Linked DNA regions of Homo sapiens: regions 1, 2, 3, 4, 5 and 6 are each linked to region 7. The links are contacts of gene promoters, found by promoter capture Hi-C in blood cells and fetal thymus (Javierre and others, 2016). All regions are on one chromosome and are shown on one strand. Each heading gives the region's core, a stretch centred on a gene start or on the middle of the fragment in contact. The rest is flanking DNA. Distances are from core to core; before and after follow the strand shown. Region 1 overlaps KRT40 (keratin 40). Region 2 overlaps LOC105371777 (a long non-coding RNA gene). Region 3 holds the start of KRTAP1-5 (keratin associated protein 1-5). Region 4 overlaps LOC105371777 (a long non-coding RNA gene). Region 5 overlaps LOC107985072 (a long non-coding RNA gene). Region 6 overlaps KRT39 (keratin 39). Region 7 holds the start of KRTAP17-1 (keratin associated protein 17-1).

Region 1 (2,982 bases), core at 274-2,773, 330 kb before region 7:
CCACTATGACTACAGCAATACATGACATATTTGTGAAGCTTAAGGACTATCCACAACATATGAGAGGAAAGATTGAGTTTGGGCTCTTGGCAGGGAGGGGTAGTATAGTGCTATTAAGAGAAGAGGCTCTGGATACCAGAGGCTGGGACTGGCATATGTGTGGTAAGGGGATGAAGAGAGGTTGGTTAATGGGTGCAAACATACAGTTAGACAGAAAGAATATGTTTTCATGTTGGACAGCAGAGAAGTGTGACTACAGTTAACAACAATACACTGTGCATTTCAAAATAGCTAGATGGGAGGACTTGAAATGCTCCCAACACATAGAAATGATAAATACTTGAGGTGATGGATGCTCTAAATATCCTGACTTGATCATTACACATTCTATGCATGTAACAAAATATCACATCTACGTAAAAAAAATTTACGCATATTATATATCAATAAAAATAAATTTAAAAAGAGAGAGAGAAGAGACTCTGGGATTCAACTGGCTGAACTCAGCTTCCAAGTTTGCCTCTTAGAATTGCATCCTTTGCAAGTTACTTAATCTGAGTCTCAGTTTTCCTTATCTGTGTCATGGGATAAAGGTATCTATCCGGTAAAGTTACTGTGAGCCTTAAATCAGCATAGTGCCTCTCACAGGATGAATGCTCAGCTATTGTTCTTCTAGGTGTTCTCCGCAGGGCCTAATGACATGCACACAGTGGTGCTTGACCAGAACTGGTTCATGTCATCTTGAACGCATGGTGTTCCTGTTGCTTGAGTGGGGGGTGGTGCAGTGAAGGATAAGGTTGAAGTGTAGATCCTGGGAAACTGTAGGATGAAATGTTTGAAAATGATTCTTTGTTTTAGATATAACAGTGAGCCTGGAAAACTGGCCTGAATCAAATGAGAATTAAAACCTGCCAGAATGCTTAAGCGACCATGGCCCGGAGGTTTCTCTCCAGCTCTGCTTCTCCCTCCCTGTCTCTGGAGGCTGCTGCAGCATCAGACTCAAGCCCAGGAGTGAAGGTAAGGCATCTTAGAGGACAAGCTGTGGACCTGTCACTTCTGCTTCTATTAATAGCTGGGTAAACGGCAGTACTCGGGAAAGGCAAGGAAATGTGATCCTCGGATATGGAAGAGGGCTTAACATCTCAGGGCCTGACTTATCAGTGACACAACGGACACTGCCTTTGCCTCACGCACCAGGCTTTGCTGTGCTTGGAGCTCAATTTCCAGAGCACTGGCTGTGCGTTTCAGTTCCAAGATCTCCATCTGGCAGCCCTGCAGCTGCTCCGCGCTGGACAGTTGCTGCTGATTCAGCTCTTCTGTCTGAAACACAGACACCATTAGAGAATTCAAAAAAGGCAGAAGTCTGTAAGCCTGACATTTTTTCAATCTGGGTACTGACCTGAACAGCCAACCATTCTTCAGCTTCTCTGCGATTGTTGGCAAGCACCGTTTCACACTGACAGCGCATCTCATCCAGGACCCTGTTGAGGTCAAGGGTGGGGGCAGTGTCCAGCTCCACACTGAGGCGGTCGCCAAGCTGTTCACGAAGCAAGTTGACTTCCTGAAAGTGGGATGGTGTAAAGAATGTCACAGAATGGTGGGGAAAAATCCATTTGACATCCAATGGCATTCTACTTCTGTTTTTTGGAGCAGTGGGTAAAAGTGTGAGATTTTGATTCAGATTGCCTGGGCTGAATCTCTTTTCACCACTTAGAAGGGCCTCAGTTTCTTCGTCTGTAAAATGGACATAATAATTGGACATTTTTCCAGAAAGTTATTGTGAGATCTAGAAGAGTCAATCTACACATAATTAACTTATAAAAGTTAATTATGACACATAGTAAGGTGTCAATAAATGTTAGCTATGATTGTCATCAACAAACGTTCAAAGAGCAAATGTACTTTGTTACATCATTCAGCTTTTCATTTTCTAGCTTTATCAATATATCAGTGGCTGTATATTTTATGATTTTTAGAAGTTTATAAATGCGGAATATTTAAAAACACTGGTCCAGATAGTGCACAGTCTTTATCCCTTTTTTGAAATGGACTTCACAGTCTGTTCCTCAGCCTGATTTTCATACCCTGTGGACTGGAGCTAGGGGTGGCATAAAGCCTCCAAAGGAAGCCATTTGTGAAGTTACCTCCTCCACAAAGGCAAGGGCAGGAGAAGAGTTTGATTCCTTCCTCTGGCGCTGTCTAGGGGTTATTTCACACCTTAAATCAGAGACACACTGGAATGATCAGGTTGAATAGTAATAATGCCTCGAGTAGTTTTTGTTTGTTTGTTTGTTTGTTTGTTTTTTGAGATGGAGTCTCGCCCTGTCACCCAGGCTGGAGTGCAGTGGTAAGATCTCGGCTCACTGCAACCTCCGCCTCCTGAGTTCAAGTGATTCTCCTGCCTCAGCCTCCCGAGTAGCTAGGACTACAGGCGCCTGCCACCATGCCCAGCTAATTTTTGTATTTTTAGTAGAGATGAGGTTTCATCATATTGGTCAGGCTGGTCTCGAACTCCTGACCTTGTGATCCTCCTGCCTCAGCCTCCCAAAGTGCTTGGATTACAGGTGTGAGCCACCATGCCTGGCCCTGCCTCAAGTAGTTTTATTCCAGCTTAAACAACATCTGCCCAAATTCGATTTACAAACATCAACAGATCATCTGTCAATGTAAGTACGTTACTCTCGGAGTCCTTCAGCGGAGTTGCCACTTTCCTTACCTCTTCATGGTTTTTCTTAAGGCAAAGGAGATCTTCCTTCAGAGACTCCACATGGGCCTCCAGATCAGATTTGCACAGGGTCAGTTCCTCCAGGATCCCATGCAGGCTGCTGATGTCAGCCTCTAACAGCTGGCGAAGGGACAGTTCACTCTCGTACCTTTCACAGCAAAAGAGAAATCCAACGCTTACTTTGCTGAACGCTGTGCAAAGTGTGGGGATACATGGAGGATCGACACACGGACTTCAGGAAGCCATGTGCATAATTT
Region 2 (2,870 bases), core at 256-2,755, 440 kb before region 7:
TATGGTTGTTAACTATTATTCACTCCCAAGTGTCCCCCAAGACAGAGAGATTCCATTTTACTGCCATAGAAATGAAAACAGAAGCAAATAAAATGTCAAAAGAAATGTGCCAAGTTCAAAATTGTACCTCAGTGATTTGATCACATAATACGGGAATATGATTAAGTTGAATTTTTGAACTTGGAATTGATTTTGTGCTGAAAGGTACACTTTCCAACTCTAATGCCTATGGTAAAATTTAAATAATATTGCTCAATCTCTAAAAATTATGTTTATATATTATTTGTTTATGTTTCTATACATATAACATATTATCCTAGACTAAGCTTGTTAGGTAGGTACTACATCTAATTTATTTTTTATCCTGAGTCCTAGCCTAGTGTTTCGCTGAACTTTATCACTGCACTCCTTGAATGATTTCATTTGAAAGAAGTTAAGTCTTAATGTGTTTGAATGTGTCATTTGAAATTCATTTCATTTGAAAATGACTGTGCCCTAATTTACTGGTATGCTTTGACCAATATTTATTCTGAATTCAGTTATGAATGGGGAGCAACTTCAGAAGTTGAAAAGGGAAATATTTCTTCTTCAGTGGCTTTTTTTTTTTTAAGTGGGAGGCTAAGTTAAATAATCAAGACTCTGCTTTAGAGGTTTTAGAAGTGAAAATAATTTTCTTTGACAGCCACATTAATGTATAAGGCAGTGGTGATGTAAAAAACAATAAACAATCTTGGGCTTGTTGGCAGAGTGATTGCATAAGTTGAGGCAGAGAGGAAAATGATTATAGCCAGGGCAAACTGTTCAAAAGAATTATATCTTCCATTTTTGTAGAGTTTAGGAAATGTTCAAAATAGAGAAAATTAGTTATGTGGTTTTTACAAGTCTTTAGATTTTTATTGAGTAAATCATACCCTCATCTTTTCATGTCAGGTTGGTTTCTGTCCTGGTCTTTGCAGGGTTTTCTACCTGAGTTTTTTCCCGTAAGACAGACCTGTCATTTTCTGCAACTCGCTGATCCCTTGATCTGTAACATCTTTCACTTTGGATAACATTATAAAATCCTGTGAGTGACTGAGAGAATTTTGGGTTGCCTACATTTTATGTATTGTGCTTTTGAGATGAGGGTTAAACAAGGACCCTAAGGGGTATGAGTGAGATTGACTTCTGGGCTCCAGAGATCAATGGTTCTTGAAAGCAGGGGAGAATTTTGAAAGTGGTAGGAGACAGGAAGATGATAAAATAATACCCTGATGAGAGGAATCTTGGAAATGAGCCTAGGGGAGAGAAAACAGAGATGTTTGAAAGAGAATTCAAAAATAAAAATCACTACTAATGCTTTAAGTTGGAATTGTTACTTGGGGGTCTAATCAGGTACCTGAGGCTGATCCTGATGCATGTGGATGAGAACAGAGTGTCTGAGGAGGTCACTGGCCATGTTTTGATTTTGTATCACTCCATGTCATTCTCCTTTTTAGATGATTCAGAACTCTGGGTAGAAATAATCTCCAGAGCTCAGAAAAAATAGTTATTTCCATCCTAACCTCACCTCTAGGGGCTCTCTCTGAGTTTGATAGCTTCACTTCTGCACTGACAATTTCATATAAAATGAAAAAATACATTGATGATAATTCTAATGTGTGATAAAGACTTCTCTCTGGATCTGTTTACCTGTCAGAAATAGGATTATGTCATTCTAGTTCTTAGCTCATATCAGAAATATAGATAGATACAAAGATTAATGCTTCACTTTCACACAGTAACTGCTGGCAGAACTGGAGGTAGAACTCCACCATCTGGTCCACATGTATGTAGCTCTCACTCACTTCTTTGAAAGATTGCTTGGAAGAAACTAGAGACAGACCAAAGAAGCAAGAGGAAGAAAAAATCTTCATTTTTCTGATCTAAAAATAACAATTCTACTTCTTTTAACAGGTAGTTAAAAGAGGACCATCCTAAATTAAGAATAACAATCCTACCTCTTTTAACACAGTGTCATCATTGCCATATAACAGTGGTCAGGCCTAATCAGTTACAAACCCATCTGCATAGGTTTCTTATTAATCAGATTCACAGTCTGGTATTTGCATGTCAAAGTTTCAGACTATTCTGGAATGTGTCTCAGTAGGTGAAAAAGAATTCACTTTTAAATATTCTTAACATCTTTAAATGCAACTTACTAGCTAGCGTGACTTGGAAGAAAATTAAGAAAAAAATGAGTGAAATCTTTTCACTTTGGAAAAGAAGGCAATGAGAATAGGTGAGAATACCTTTTCTGACAAAAGTTGTACTGAATCAAGTCATGTGTGATGTTAGCCAGCAAAGCTGGACATTTGCCACAATTGGCTGTTGTGTCTGGCTGATGAAAATGACAATTAGAAAACAACAAAATAACTGCGGATAGGCAAGTGCCTATTTCAACTGTGAATCATGTATTGCTTTGTTATGTAATTAGTTGCTTATGAGGGTGTCCTGGTTTTAGAGAAACAGCGCTGAGGTTCAGTCTCGCTCTACTACTTGGTAACTGCTTGACTTTGGGAAAGTCTTTATCTCATGTCTTCATATGAGTCCTCATTTATCCTCATATGTAAAGTGGGGGTAACATAATAAGGTTGAACCTTATTATATATGCTATATAATAGCATATAAAATTGCTATTTCTGAAAGTCAGAAATTATCATATATTGGAAAGCTTTAAAAAAATCTTTATTCTTTCAATTTAAAATAATGAATCAAGTGCCTGCTATGTGTTAGATATTATATTACATCTTAGGAATTCAAAGTGGTACCATTCACATCCTCAAAAATTCCCAACTCTTAGAAATTATCATATATTGGCAAGTTCATATGATTCAACCTAATAGCTTCTACCT
Region 3 (2,885 bases), core at 148-2,647, 290 kb before region 7:
ATTTTTTTTTTTTTTTTTTGTATTTTTAGTAGAGACAGGGTTTCACCATGTTGCCCAGGCTGGTCTCAAACTCGTGAGCTCAGGTAATCCACTCACCTCAGCCTCCCAAAATGCTAGGATTACAGGTGTGAACCACTGCTCTTGGCCTCAAGTAGACATTCTTGAATTATAAGCAGTTAAACCAGGTGATGTACAAGTGAAAACAAAGACAATGGTTTCTTTGCCTAGTATATAATATTTATTAAGAAATGACAGAAGACATTGTATCACAGATATAACTGAAATATCCAGCAGGCAAGATCATTATGATCCAAAAACCAAGGGATGGATCAGATGTTAAAATGTGGAAAGTCCAGCCTACTTCTTAGAAGCTGAATGTTGGGTGATGAGCTTCCATTCTCTCTGGTGACTTGAGGAATGTCACTTGGCTATAATTTGGTGTCTTTGATGTTGCAAAAAATTTTAGGTAAACAAGATAAAATAGATTATAAAGCATGGAAACATTAGACTTGTGGATAGTTCTCATGGATAAATTCCACAACATGTCAGTAATTTTTAATCCTGCAGAAATATCAGAAATAGTATATCCCAAGCAAATTGATGATCAGCAGGTGGCTTTGTAGCATTTCTGTGTCCCCAGTGAAGGGTCAAGGTATTCATTGTAGAATGGAATCAGATAGAATTGTGAGCTCATATACTTAGTAGTCTCCATCACAAGCAATGCAAAGTCTGAGAACTTGTTAGTGGTCCAGAGGTGGTCAAGGGATGAACAGTTCAGAGACACTGTGACCTAGGCAATTGAAAATAAGCAAACTGGCTTTCAGCAAGTGGGCTCACAGCAGCAGACTGGGCGGCAGCAGGACTGTCCACAGTAGGACGGGCGGCAGCAGGAGGCCTGGGCATGGTGCAGTTGGCAGCAGGATGGGGGCGTGCAGCTCACCACACAGCAGGGGGGTAGGTAGGTGCCCTCCACACGACTGTCTGGGCGGCACCACCTGATACGGGTGCTCACAGCTCCACTGCTGCCCTCCTGGCCATAGCTGATGCCACCACCAATGCCACAGCCAGTTCCGCAGGAGCTGATCTGGCAGCAGCTTGGCTGGCAGCAGCTGGTCTCACAGCAGCTTGGCTGGCAGCAGCTGGTCTCACAGCAGCTTGGCTGGCAGCAACTGGAGCTGCAGGTCCCACTGGTTGAGAAGCTGGGAAATCCGCAGAAGCTAGTCTGGCAGCTGCGTGGCTGGCAGCAGCTGGTCTCACAGCAGCTTGGCTGGCAGCAGCTGGAGCCACAGGTCCCACTGATGGAGAAGCTGGGATATCCACAGAAGCTGGTCTGGCAGCAGGTCATGGTGTCAGAAGTTGGGTTAAGAGTTAGGTTGCTTGGAGGAGTTTCTGAGGTTTGGTGGTGACTTCCACGTTGGTCCTTTTATATATCTGAACCAGCTGCTGTTTACAAAATTGTTAACATATTTTCTTTGTTTTTGTTTAAATTTGTTACTCCGTGGATCTCTGATTGGCTTATGTTGAAATACTTGTGACACATTATGAGCAATAGTTTAGAAATTACTGTTTTATAGTTTCTTCTGGACTCCTCATATCAGTCCTTTGCTCTTTGGAATATGTTTGTGGTTTCCCATGTTCAAAGAGTACTTCCATTTTAGTCCAAATGAATGCTCTCATTTTACATAATAGTTATTCCACGTGACAATCTATCCATACCTCTAAGGCTAAGAGTAATAATTGTGCTGTTATATTTAACTATTATTTTTTCCTCCTAGATATATAGACTAAATTTTATTGAATTTTGGATATCTGGATATCTACTGAACTGAAGGAATACCTTTGGTCATACATAATTCGCAGATTTCACCTTTTTTTGTTCCAATGTCTTATTGAATTACCGATTATAGTTCCTTTGATTTCAACCAATTTGGAATGTGTGACTATTATTCCTGTTCCAGACCAGAAATCTGTTCTTGGGAACCAAACTGACATAGTATTTAGGAAGGTATCCAGCAGAGTCCTTAGTTTGTGGTAGAACCTTAATAAATGTTTACTGAATCTGATTCAATAAATGTTTATTGAATAGGTGGAGTAAAAGGCTTGATTCATGGATATCAATACCACTCAAACATGATTAAAGAGAACTTTCAAGCTGTAGTACTTCTCATGAAAGAGTCTTGTTATTTGCTGTAAAGAGACTAGGAAATGTGTTTTTTGGTTTATTTTATTTTATTTTTTGGATTTAGTAGTGGAACCGGGCTCGGGAAAAAATATCTAGGAGTTATGACACTTTGAAAAATGTACTGCCATCTACTTTATTCCTCTTGGAAATTGCATAATTTTGTGTGTAATCCATCATTGCTACCAATTAAATATAGAGGTAAGTTCTGGGAGCTTGTAAATAATGTGGAAAACGTGTTTCTTTCTATATTTGCATCCTATTGTATTTTGTGTATTACACTCTAATGCCTAATGAAGAATTTAAAAATTAAATGGTAAAATATGTTTTGTTTTGTTCTAGGTTGTGTTAATTTTTTTTTTTGAGACAGAGTCTTGCTTGTTGCCCAGGCTGGAGTGCAGTGGCGTGATCTTGGCTCACTGCAAGCTCTGCCTCCCAGGTTCACGCCATACTCCTGCCTCAGCCTCCCAAGTAGCTGGGACTGCAGGCACCCACGACCACACCTGACTAATTTTTTTTTTGTATTTTTAGTAAAGACTGGGTTTCACCATATTAGTCAGGATGGTCTCAATCTCCTGACCTCGTGATCCACCCATCTCAGCCTCCCAAAGTGCTGGGATTACAGGCGTAAGCCACCGTGTCCAGCGTGTTAACTTCTTAAGAGAATATCTTTTAAGTTGGGTTGCAAAGTGCAAAATATAATCGA
Region 4 (2,700 bases), core at 99-2,598, 420 kb before region 7:
GACTAAGAGAGAGCCCAACTGAATTCCTCCCAAAACAGAAGAATAATTTGTCACCAAGACTAATTCTAGTTCCTACCTCTAGAATCATAGTAAAGAAGTTACTGACAATTTAAAAATAATATTAGCACCTGTTTCTAGCCATCATTAGTTCATGAACGTTGAGGTCCAGTCTCAAACACCTACCTAAAAATGCAAATCTGATTATTTCACTTCTGTAAAAAACTGACAACAGTATGTAGTCAAGTCCAATATACAGCTCTCAAAGATCTAGCTCCTGCCTACCTTTTTAGACCCCCTGGTCACCCCTCCATGCCTCAGATGGCACACTCCAGTAACACACACCACTGATTCCTCCATTCCATGCTTCTGTATACTCCATCCCCTTCTCTTCTTCTGCATGTCATCTCTTCCAGGAAGCCATCCCTGTGCTCTCAAATTCCTTCCCTCCAGGATGACCAACTGTCCTGGTTTGCCCAGGACACAGAGCTTTCTGCAATGTGAGACTTTCAGAGTTAAAACTGGGACAGTCAGTCCCAGGACAGTTGGTCACCCCGTTCATCTCTCCTGTGCATGTCTCTCTTTCTTGGGTATAGTGTGTGCATGGGCTTTGGCCCTGATTCCTTTGTGGAATGAGTGGGTGTGGGACATGGGGAATAGGATGAGATGAGAATGACTGGGTGGTGATAGTGGTACCCCATGGCAAGGGGGACACTGGGACAGGACTGGGAGATGGTTTGGGAGATGGTTTACTTAACATAATGACCTCCAGTTCCATCCATGTTGTTGCAAATGACAGAATCTCATTGCAAAGGGAAACATGGTGTGTTTGTGGAAATGCCAAGTTTGTAGCACTTGTGTCAGATTTAGGTGGAGGAGACCTGGATGAAGAGGAAGACTGTTGAGTATTCTGATTTGGAGACCAGGCTGGGAGTGCATAATAAGGTACTGATAAGGTACGTAGGAAAGGTTTTCTCCAGTATTATTGATTTTTTTTTTTTTGAGACAGAATCTTGCGCTGTTGCCCAGGCCAGAGTGCAATGGCATGATCTTGGCCCACTGCAACCTCCGCCTCCTGGATTCAAGCGATTCTTCTGCCTCAGCTTCCCAAGTAGCTGGGATTACAGGCACCTGCCACCATGCCCATCTAAGTTTTATATATATATATATTTTTTTTGAGATGGAGTTTTGCTCTTGTTGCCCAGGCTGGAGTGCAATGGTGCAATCTCGGCTCACTGCAACCTCTGCCTCCCAGGTTCAAGCGATTCTCCTACCTCAGCCTCCTGAGTAGCTGGGATTACAGGTATGTGCCACCATACCCGGCTAATTTTTTGTATATTTAGTAGAGACGGGGTTTCTCCATGGTGGTCAGGCTGGTCTCAAACTCCTGACCTCAGGTGATCTGCCCAGCTCCGCCTCCCAAAGTGCTGGGATTACAGGTGTGAGCCACCACGCCTGGCCTAATTTTTGTATTTTTTAGTAGAGATGGGGTTTCACCATGTTGGTCAGTCTCGAACTCCTGACCTCAGGTGATCCACCTACCTCGGCCTCCCAAAGTGCTGGTATTACAAGTGTGAGCCACCATGCCCGGTGCCAGTCTTGATGATTCTTATGTTTATCCCTCATATATAAATTACCACCATGATTCTAGTTCACTCAGTCTTCCAAAACTCCAGAGTCAAATCTGCACAGACAGACCACAGGAAACAGCATCTCCTGGGAGAGGCTGCCATCTTGCATAGCCCTTGCTGCTGCCTGGAGGCTTCTTCTCTCTAAACTGCTGCATTATCACATCATTGAGCGTTTCATTCATTGTGATAACTGAAGACTGTAGAATTTATGGTGCTTGTGAAAGCTCTAGAAAATATTGCCTAGCTATAGGCTATAATATTGTTAGCTAACTAAATGGTAATAACCAATTAGCATTGAACTTTTTTAGACTATGTTCTAAGGGAGAAATCATCAGTGATTTAATTTTCTGATATGCTTTTATGTTACTTGGACAACCCAAACTTACTATTTTTGAAAACAAGTAAGCAAGTGACAAATCACTCACCATGTGTTTTTATTTTTCATGAGGCTTGTTTCTAAATACAAAGAACCATATAGGCTATCATATCTGAAAGAGCCCTTGAAAGTCATGTAGGCCATCCTCATTTTACAAATGAAAAGCTGAGGCATATGCAGATTAATGACTTGCCTATAGCAACGGTACAAATATAGAAAGTTGAGATTAAGCTACATAATATTTGCTCTGCAAATTGATTTTTAGTGCTTTTGCATGACCCAGGAAAACTGTCTTGGCAACAACATCCTGATGTATAAACAAAACTCTCATCAACGAAATTACTGCTTAAAAGGTGAATATAAGGTCTATACTCAATACATTTTTGTTTCTACCTGGGGCTAGAGACCTCCTCTTTCAATATGGTCCTTCCCGTGCTACTAATCACACAAAATTGAAACAGGTGCTCTAAGATACGGCGGCGATCATTGGCTCCAGAATGCTCCTAGAGCAAGGCACGATGTATATGGATGCATCAGACTAGATGAAGAGATGTATTATTAATTCGTTTTTCAGAATGCAAACGGCAGATGTGTTCACATTTCTGCTCGGTGGGGTATTTCATTACTTTTTAATGTGCACACACTTAAGTAAAAAGGGAAAAACAAACCATACAAAGCATCCGACTGGTTAAAAGA
Region 5 (2,700 bases), core at 65-2,564, 380 kb before region 7:
ATCTCAGATATGAGAAAAAGACAAAAGAGACAAGTGATAAAAATAGAGCAAATGAGGGAACTAGAGAGACTTGTTTGGCGAGTGGTGGCAACCAGTGTTCTGTGGATGTGGACGGTTCCTGGTCATCAAAGTTATGGTCAGCTCTGGTTCCTGTTCGCCTGGACCCAGACTTACCAAGGAAGAAAACATTTACCTTTAGCATGTGCAAGGGCCGGGCTGCACTGCCTTTTTCTAAATTCTCTCACCAGAATCTACAATGAAATTAATGCTTCTCTAATTATTTCAGGCATGTCTGAGTGGCAGTGACTTATCAACCCCATAGATTTGGCCACTGTCTCATTTTATGTCCATGTGTGGGAGTTTTGATTTATAGGACTTATCCTTGAGCAAAAGATTTCTTGTGTCATAGCAGGACCAGGGCCAGGAAAAACTGGTGGTGAGATCTGAGAGCACTGGGGAGAAATAGTCTCTTCTAGTACTGTTATATGATGGTTTCCCATAACTTCTTTTTTTTTTTTTCTCAAGATGGAGTTTTGCTCTGTCACCCAGGCTGGAGTGCAATGGCGCAATCTTGACTCACTGCAACCTCCGCCTCCTGGGTTCAAGCGATTCTCCTGCCTCAGCCTCCCGAGTAGCTAGGATTACAGGTGCGCACCACCATGCCCAGCTAATTTTTTGTATTTTTAGTAGAGACGGGGTTTCACCATGTTGGCCAGGCTGGTCTTGAACTCCTGACCTCATGATCTGCCTGCCTTGGCCTCCCAAAGTGCTGGGATTACAGGCATGAGCCACCCTGCCCAGCCAATTTTCCATAACTTCTTTTTTTTTTTTTTGAGACAGAGTCTCGCCCTGTCGCCCAGGCTGGAGTGCAGTGATGTGATCGTGGCTCACTGCAACCTCCACCTCCCGGGTTCAAGCGATTCTTCTGCCTCAGCCTCCCGAGTAGCCGGGACCACAGGTGCGTGCCACCACGCCCGGCTAATCTTTGTAGTTTTTAGTAGAGACGGGGTTTTACCATGTTGGCCAGGCAGATCTTGAACTTCTGACTTTGTGATCCACCCACCTCGGCCTCCCAAAGTGCTGGGATTATAGGCATGAGCCACCGCACCCGGCCCTGGTTTTCCATAACTTCTAATGTGTAGAGTTCCATTGGATTTTAAAAGAAATGATGCTTTTTTAAAAGCATCATTTTAAAAGCATTAAAAGAAATGATACATGCTTATTATACAAAATCAAGTGATACATGATGGTACAGGAAAAAATATTTAAAAATTCTACCACACACACACAACGTTTGGTGACATTTGGTGAACATCCTTTCAGATACTATGTGTATGTATTGGAAGACAAAAGAATGGCTAGAATAATTGGAAAAATGGGCTCCTGCGACTTATTCCATTTTAGAAAAACTTAAGTCAATTAACACATTTTAATTGGCAAATAAGGAACTAAAATGAATTCACTTTAGTGACATAGTTTTTCTAGAATTTAAAAACGTTCATCACATTCTTTTAAATTTTACATTTTTAAGAAGGATAAAATGGCCTGTAAATGCCAGGATTTTTGGAATCGCAGGACTGGAAAGAAAAGCAACGCTGAGCCACTTGTTGCAGATTTTTGCTTTTAGGGAGGACAACGGCAGAGTGCTGAGCTTGTTTTTGAAGTATTCTTAAAGAACGCGAGGGATGAAGCCTCCAACTGCTTCCTCAGTAAATGGCCAACATTTACTGATCCTTTTGGTTCACAAGCATTTCACTTGCAATATGGTTTCAGGATTTCTTTTGGTATTTCTGTAGAGTGCAAATTGTTCAGAATCAAAATCATTCTGCTTTGCATGATTTTCTGGCTGAAACATTTGTAGTTTTCACATTTGATTCATCTTTCTGATGAACTCAGTTGTCGTCTTGAAAGGGAGTGGGTACTTTGTAAGACAGCTCAGCTGTTGAGTGAATGCATGGGGTTGCATGTGGGTGTGTTGGGGTCAGAAGGGAGCCCTGTCAGAAGGTAGCTGTCATGAACTGGGTACACCGTCTGTTTGTGTGCCTTTTCAAGACAACCATTCCATTAATGAAGCATTTTATAGGCACCCGTTCTTTATAGTAGAGAAAGATGGCCAAAATGACTCTCAAATACATTTTTACTACACATGATATTTCAGCACAGATGAGTAGTAGGTCTTCAGGCAAAATTGCTATGCTATTATCCTATGAGTTGGAAGGTTACATAAGAAGATTAGACATTTATAGAAATAAAACATGCCCATTAAAAGTGGGCAAAGGACATGAACAGACACTATATACAGATACTATTTGTAAGCGACTCAAGTTGGCTGTTGTTTTCTTCCTCATTTGAAATACTGTATTGAAGACTTCATAACTCACATCATCTCTCTGTTGGCCCCTTTTTCCTGGACAAATAGAAATATGAGAAAACGGTCTGAGGATCATGCTGTAACAAAGTGTTTTATATCAGCTTTACTTGACCACTCATGCTTATGCCCTTGTAGCATCTTATCCATTGGGAAAATGTTCCCAGCTGAAAACAGTCAATTGCAGCTGCAATTTTAAACATGGAATGCAATAGATAGACTTTAAGAAGTTAGTAAAATCTCTAAAACTATATGCAAAAATTTCTCTGCATGCTTATATGCTTGCTTTTCTGAGGAATAGAAGCTTTTATTAACTGTTGTATTTAAAAATT
Region 6 (2,700 bases), core at 82-2,581, 350 kb before region 7:
TTCTCTCTTTCTCTTTTTGCTTCTCTGTAAGTATTTGTTTCACTTTCTCTTTCTTGACCAACCAATAGTCTCGCACCACACTTTCCTACTTAGGAGAGAAAAAATAATAACTTAATGCACACCCAGGCATTAAAAATGCATTACTGGCTGGGCGCAGTGGCTCACGCCTATAATCCCAGCACTTTGGGAGGCCCAGGTGGGTGGATCACAAGGTCAGGAGTTCAAGACCAGCCTGGCCAAGATGGTGAAACCCCGTCTCTACTAAAAATACAAAAAATTAGCTGGGTGTTCTGGTGGGCACCTGTAATCCCAGCTACTTGGGAGGCTAAGGCAGAGAATTGCTTGAACCCGGGAGGTGGAGGTTGCAGTGACCCGAGATCGTGCCACTGCTGTCCAGTCTGGGCGACAGAGTGAGACTCCATCTCAAAAAGAAAAAAAAAAAAAAGCATTACCATGGCACTTCATTCAGTGAGTGTTCGTGTCTTAAAAAAGGAAGGAAGCAATGTTTTACCATATACAATTTATCCACCAGATCAATTCCTTTATATGTAAAATATGAAAGTTGAAACTGATGAGTAAATTTCATTCCTGCTCTATCATTCTGTAAGTCTATGGATAATGATGGGATTTTAGGTTTTAATAGCCTATTATTTGCATGATTATCCCAATTTTTATAGATGAGAAAACTGAGGTTCAAGTGGTTCAATATGTTGTCCAAGGTCACATGACTAGCTGGTGACAAAACCAGTGTGGGGCAAGGTCTTCCCAAAAGCCTTCACATCAGAGCATGTAAGCAATTCTCTACTTCAGAGAGGCATTATCATGAGACAGAATGATACTGGCTTTGGAATCTAAACTCTGGCTCAGACTCTTATTTCTTTTGTGACTTTGGATGAGTTTCTTAATGTCTCAGGATCTCAGTGTCTCTATAAAATAGGTGGGCTGAAACTTACCTTGGATTTGCTTGGGAAAATCACTTTAGCTCTTGGAGCCTCATCTGTAACATTCGTTAATAATTATGCCACCCCCCCTCTTAGGATTGCTTTATAAATCTCATGTGATAGCTTGTAAAAATGCTTTGCATATAATAAAATGCTCTCCCAGTGTTTCCCAAAGTGTACTTCATGAATCATTAATACCATGAGATGTTCTAAAAAAAGTGGGGGGATCCACAGTCAAATAAGTTTTGGAATGCTGAATACCATATACCCCCTTCCTGGAGATTCATGGTGTATATTAGCTTATTAATGGCTCACAGGAAGGCACCCTGTTTAACCTTGGTTTAGTGCAGCGTTTCGTAGACTTATTTGGCCACAAAGCTCTTTTTCAGCCATAGACGCTTTAACAAATGAGGAACTATTGTTCTGAAAGACACAGTTTGGGAAATACTGCAGCACACAGGTGTAAGGGACTGTTTCCATCTTTGCTGAGCTAGGCTTGGTCAGCTTGCTCAGTACCATTCGATGCTGGGCCTGCAGTTCAACCTCCAGAGTGTTCACACTGCGTCTCAGTTCTATGATCTCCTTTTGGCAGCATTGCTGCTGTTGAGAGCTGGTCACCACTTGTTGATTCAGCTCCTCTATCTGAAACACACAGCCAGAGACTGAGAATATTATGGGAGGAAAACATGACTTTGATTAAAGGGCCCTAGAAATGCAGCATCAGCTTATTGTTTTTGACTTTTCTATATCCCCCACCTGCGTGTTGAACCACTGTTCCACATCTTTGCGGTTTGTCTCCATGATGGGCTCATATTGACATCTCATTTCTTGTAGAACCTGGTTTAGGTCAGCAGAAGGGGCAGCAGTCACTTCAATGTCAAGTCTCTCCCCAAGCTGACACTGTAAAGAATTGATTTCCTAAGGAAAGAAAAAGACTGTGAAGTCACTTGGTGAACAGATAACCCCTTTGTGTTCTTGTTTCACTCTAACTGCTACGATTTAGCTTAATTGTGTCTAAAATATAGCCCACAACAAAGGAATACATGATTTACAGGTGTTATTGAGATGCTATAAAATGATTTAAGACTCTTTCAGGTAGGACTGTGTGTTTAAATGTGTGCAAAATTAAAAAAAAATGAGTAGCAAGACCAGAGTTCCAAAAAATTTAGATCATTTCCAGGGCTGGATAATGGGTGAAACAGGATAAAGGTGGAATTGATCATGAGAGATTATAGTCTCTATGGTGCAAATACGGGATTGTGCCAATATTGACTTGCACCAATATTGACTTGTACCAATGGGAGGTGGCAGAAGCCTGTATAGGGATGCCTACAAACATGGGAAGACTGTAAGGACAGAAAAATTGGGTTCCTTCTTGTAGAAAAGCTGGAGGGGATGTTGGAGGCCTTTCTTCCCCTTATGGCTCCAGATATTGTGTTGGAGCCAGTGGATTTGAAATACTACCTTGAACCAGTGCTAGTAGCAGTAGGTATTTTCAGGGCTAAACCAGAGTAGTACGTAGCAGTGGTTTGGCTCTGTGTCCCCACCCAAATCTCATCTCGAATTGTAATTCCCATAATTCCCATGTGTCAAGGGAGGGACCTAGTGGGAGGAGATTGGATCATGGGGGTGGTGTCCCCCATGCTGTTCTTAGGATAGTGAGTGAGTTCTCACAAGATCTGATAGTTTTATAAAGGGCTCTTCCCCCTTTGGTCTCTCTCTGTCTCCTGCTGCCAAGTGAGATGTGCCTGCTTCCCCT
Region 7 (2,700 bases), core at 101-2,600:
TGTTTTACCAAAGCCTCCTTTCCGACTTTGCCAGAAAGTTCTGATCAAGCCTGAAGCCCTCCTGCAGAACCATCCTAGGAGAGCTGTAGTGCAGAAGAAAGCCATGCCCCTCAATCACCATTAAATGTGGCCAGCATCAGCATTCACCCAGGAGCTTTTAAAAATGCAGGTCCCTAGGGACTCTAGGCCCTAGAGCTAACGGGTAAAATCTCCAGTGATAAAACCCAATGATCTATATTTTTAAAAGCTTTTCAAGTGAATCTCATGCAGCACACGGAAGCTTCCGTCTAGATCTATGGTTCTCAAACTTCAGTGCATAAGAATTATCTAAGGTTCTTGTTAAAAACACAGATTCCCAGGCCACACTTTGGTGGATTCTGATTCTGTATGTCTTAGGGAGGGCCTCAGAGTCTCCAGTTTTAACAAGCTCCCAGGTGATTCCGACGCAGGTGATCCAAAAACCACAATTCAAAAACCCTAAGGCAGATGCCAGAGTGAATTTTTCTAACCCAGTCCTCAGCAGGGAGGTCAAGGAAGAGGCAAGAGAACTAATTAGGTTATGCCAGCATGCTCAAATTTATTAAGAGGCTCACAAAGAAGATGGACCTTTTTTGCATCTCAAAGCTGCAGAAAGCCAGGGCGGAGGATCAGTCCCAAAGACACCTTGAAGAAGAGGATGTCTTATAGTACAAGACATTGAACTTCATGTGAATAAGTAAAGTATTGGGGATTCACCCTTGAGCTTGGGATCACTTAGTTGTGACCGAGTTTTAATGTTTCATCAGAGTATGGCTCTTGTTCTCGGTGCCTTGAAATACCAGAGAAGGTGTTGGAGAACAAGCCCTCCTCTACAAATCACAGAAAGACAAGACACTGTCTTGGGGGTATGGAAGGTTCTGGACACGAGGGGCTGTCCCCCTGGAGCAGATGGAGGCTTTCGGTGGGACTGCATCAGTGGTGGAGGGAAAGGTCTTCATTTTGTGTCGCATATAGGTGTGGGCTGGCAGCACACAGGCCCACAGCACCCGGAGCCGCAGCAACTGGACCCACAGCAACTGGATCCACAGCAGCCACCCCCGCAGCCTCCGCAGCCTCCACAGCCTCCGCAGCCAGATCCACAGCAAGACGATCCGCAGCAGCTGCCCCCGCAGCCAGAGCCCCCGCAGCCAGAGCCCCCACAGCCACAGCAGGAGCCGCAGCAGCCACAGCAGCCCGGCTGACAGCAGCACTCTTCACAGCAGTTTTGCTCCTGGGTGCAGCAGGTGAAGCAGTCCCCCGGGCAGCACCCCATGGTCCGGGCCCGTCAGCTCGCAGGTCGGTAACGCAGCCGGAGTTCCCCACGACTGACGGTGGCCAGCCATCTGGATGGCAGCTTTTATATCCCCTCACCCAGGCATGAGGGACGGGATGTTTTCTTTGTTATTATTTATGCAAGTTTCCATAAGACCGGCTCATTAACTGGCTGTTTATTTTCCAGTCCTGAGTACCTCAACTCATAAAAACGCCCCACTCCTGCCAACTGCTGTTTATCCAGAGGGTAAAAATACATCTTCGAAAAGACCTGTCATCATGGCCAAGCATCTGCCAGCTGTCATTAGCCCAGGTTGGAGATGGGAAGGGGAAGCCGGCCACAGCTTCTGGCTCTGGAATGAGGGGCTTGCCTTCCACATCTTCGCAGGTTGGCGATGGACCCCATCTTCCATGGATGCTAGTCCTGGAAAGGCAGACCGGCAACAGCCGAATGCTCTGTTCCCCCTGACACCAGTGGAGGCTACTGAGAACGCCTGGTCACGTGGCTCCTCCCAGGTGGAAATGGCATCCTCATCCCGGTTCATGTGAGCCAGGCAAATGTTTGTGTCTGTGTGTGGTATGGGGAGTGTGCCACACGTTTAGGCTTGGCCGGTGAGCATCAGTCATGAGTAATAACTGCCCTGTGAAACCGAGAGAGACTCATCGTAAAGCTGCAAGAAGCTGGTAAGGCATGGTCTGTCTCGGCGGCAAGGTGAGCTGAATATTCGCACTTCTCTCTAAATAGGTGGGAAGAACTGAGATCAGAACCCTCTACCCACCCCCACTCCAGCCCCAGGCCTTTCCTTGACCGGGGAAGGAAGAGATGCAGGAGGAGGAAGAAGAGGAGAAGGGGAGGAAGAAAGGAAAGAAGAAAAGAAAGAAGAAAGCAGGAAGGAGATCAGTAAATATCCAAAATGCTACATTAAAATGGGAATGTAACGCACTTTTTTTAAGAGTTCGAACCTTATAGACCATCTGGCAGAAGGAGAAATTAGAATACAAAATACCCAGAGTGTCATCCCAAGGAATAAAATGCCTTTGCAAGGAGTCTAAAATCTACAGATGGTTCAGGTCCATGTGTAAATTTTGAGATGGGTCAAAATTTCTGTCTCTTTCTTGGACTTTGGTACCTTGTTCTCCTCTTGGAGTGCCCATGGCAGCCCTGGAGCTGGAATACAACATCTAGTAGGGGTAGAGGACAGAAGATAGGGGTGGGGTGGGAATGGAAGGAGGGATGGGAGTAAGGATCTGGATCAAGGGATCTAGTCCTTCCCTTTTCATTTCCCTTTCTTTGTAAGATGGGCTAGAAGTAAGACAGCCTCTAAGAAGGGCTAGAAGAACTAAGGACAGGGTGGGAGTCGGGAGGGTAAATGATGAATGAGTTACTTGGATCTGATATGATACTCAATA

Evidence for each region. Contacts are between HindIII fragments. The CHiCAGO score rates a contact against its expected background, and 5 or more counts as called.
Region 1: a fragment that was not itself captured here is called in contact with the fragment with the promoter of KRTAP17-1 in region 7 in 1 of 17 cell types (endothelial precursors); the score reaches 5.3 in endothelial precursors.
Region 2: a fragment that was not itself captured here is called in contact with the fragment with the promoter of KRTAP17-1 in region 7 in 6 of 17 cell types (M2 macrophages, endothelial precursors, M0 macrophages and 3 more); the score reaches 9.1 in M2 macrophages.
Region 3: the fragment with the promoter of KRTAP1-5 here is called in contact with the fragment with the promoter of KRTAP17-1 in region 7 in 3 of 17 cell types (M2 macrophages, erythroblasts and total B cells); the score reaches 9.0 in M2 macrophages.
Region 4: a fragment that was not itself captured here is called in contact with the fragment with the promoter of KRTAP17-1 in region 7 in 8 of 17 cell types (M1 macrophages, M0 macrophages, M2 macrophages and 5 more); the score reaches 12.7 in M1 macrophages.
Region 5: a fragment that was not itself captured here is called in contact with the fragment with the promoter of KRTAP17-1 in region 7 in 5 of 17 cell types (naive B cells, total B cells, erythroblasts and 2 more); the score reaches 6.9 in naive B cells.
Region 6: a contact is called between a fragment that was not itself captured here and the fragment with the promoter of KRTAP17-1 in region 7, in 2 of 17 cell types (endothelial precursors and M0 macrophages). The highest score is 7.1, in endothelial precursors.

What each region holds. Positions count from the first base shown.
Region 1 is chr17:40,979,591-40,982,572 of GRCh38, forward strand. It overlaps KRT40 (keratin 40), which reads right to left. Exons shown (of 7, transcript NM_001389244.1): 3 at 2,717-2,873; 4 at 1,400-1,561; 5 at 1,195-1,320. It overlaps LOC107985072 (a long non-coding RNA gene), which reads left to right. Exons shown (of 4, transcript XR_001752886.2): 3 at 859-1,017; 4 at 2,738-2,982. Among named protein-coding and RNA genes, the nearest start is that of KRT40, 3.2 kb to the right of the region's middle. RefSeq lists an enhancer at 416-1,017. The HindIII fragment of the contact is 2,975 bases long and covers 37-2,982 here.
Region 2 is chr17:40,871,915-40,874,784 of GRCh38, forward strand. All of the region lies in intron 1 of LOC105371777 (a long non-coding RNA gene), which reads left to right. Among named protein-coding and RNA genes, the nearest start is that of KRT12, 6.1 kb to the left of the region's middle. The HindIII fragment of the contact is 2,363 bases long and covers 325-2,687 here.
Region 3 is chr17:41,025,811-41,028,695 of GRCh38, forward strand. It overlaps KRTAP1-5 (keratin associated protein 1-5), which reads right to left and starts at 1,398. Exons shown (of 1, transcript NM_031957.2): 1 at 216-1,398. The coding sequence starts at 1,345. The coding sequence ends at 821. The HindIII fragment of the contact is 9,785 bases long and covers 1-2,885 here.
Region 4 is chr17:40,892,192-40,894,891 of GRCh38, forward strand. All of the region lies in intron 1 of LOC105371777 (a long non-coding RNA gene), which reads left to right. Among named protein-coding and RNA genes, the nearest start is that of KRT20, 8.3 kb to the left of the region's middle. The HindIII fragment of the contact is 2,707 bases long and covers 1-2,700 here.
Region 5 is chr17:40,938,777-40,941,476 of GRCh38, forward strand. All of the region lies in intron 1 of LOC107985072 (a long non-coding RNA gene), which reads left to right. Among named protein-coding and RNA genes, the nearest start is that of KRT23, 2.5 kb to the left of the region's middle. The HindIII fragment of the contact is 2,711 bases long and covers 1-2,670 here.
Region 6 is chr17:40,960,705-40,963,404 of GRCh38, forward strand. KRT39 (keratin 39) reads right to left here. Exons shown (of 7, transcript NM_213656.4): 4 at 1,698-1,859; 5 at 1,458-1,583. All of the region lies in intron 1 of LOC107985072 (a long non-coding RNA gene), which reads left to right. Among named protein-coding and RNA genes, the nearest start is that of KRT39, 4.9 kb to the right of the region's middle. The HindIII fragment of the contact is 5,264 bases long and covers 1-2,700 here.
Region 7 is chr17:41,314,360-41,317,059 of GRCh38, forward strand. It overlaps KRTAP17-1 (keratin associated protein 17-1), which reads right to left and starts at 1,351. Exons shown (of 1, transcript NM_031964.2): 1 at 553-1,351. The coding sequence starts at 1,291. The coding sequence ends at 974. The HindIII fragment of the contact is 4,540 bases long and covers 279-2,700 here.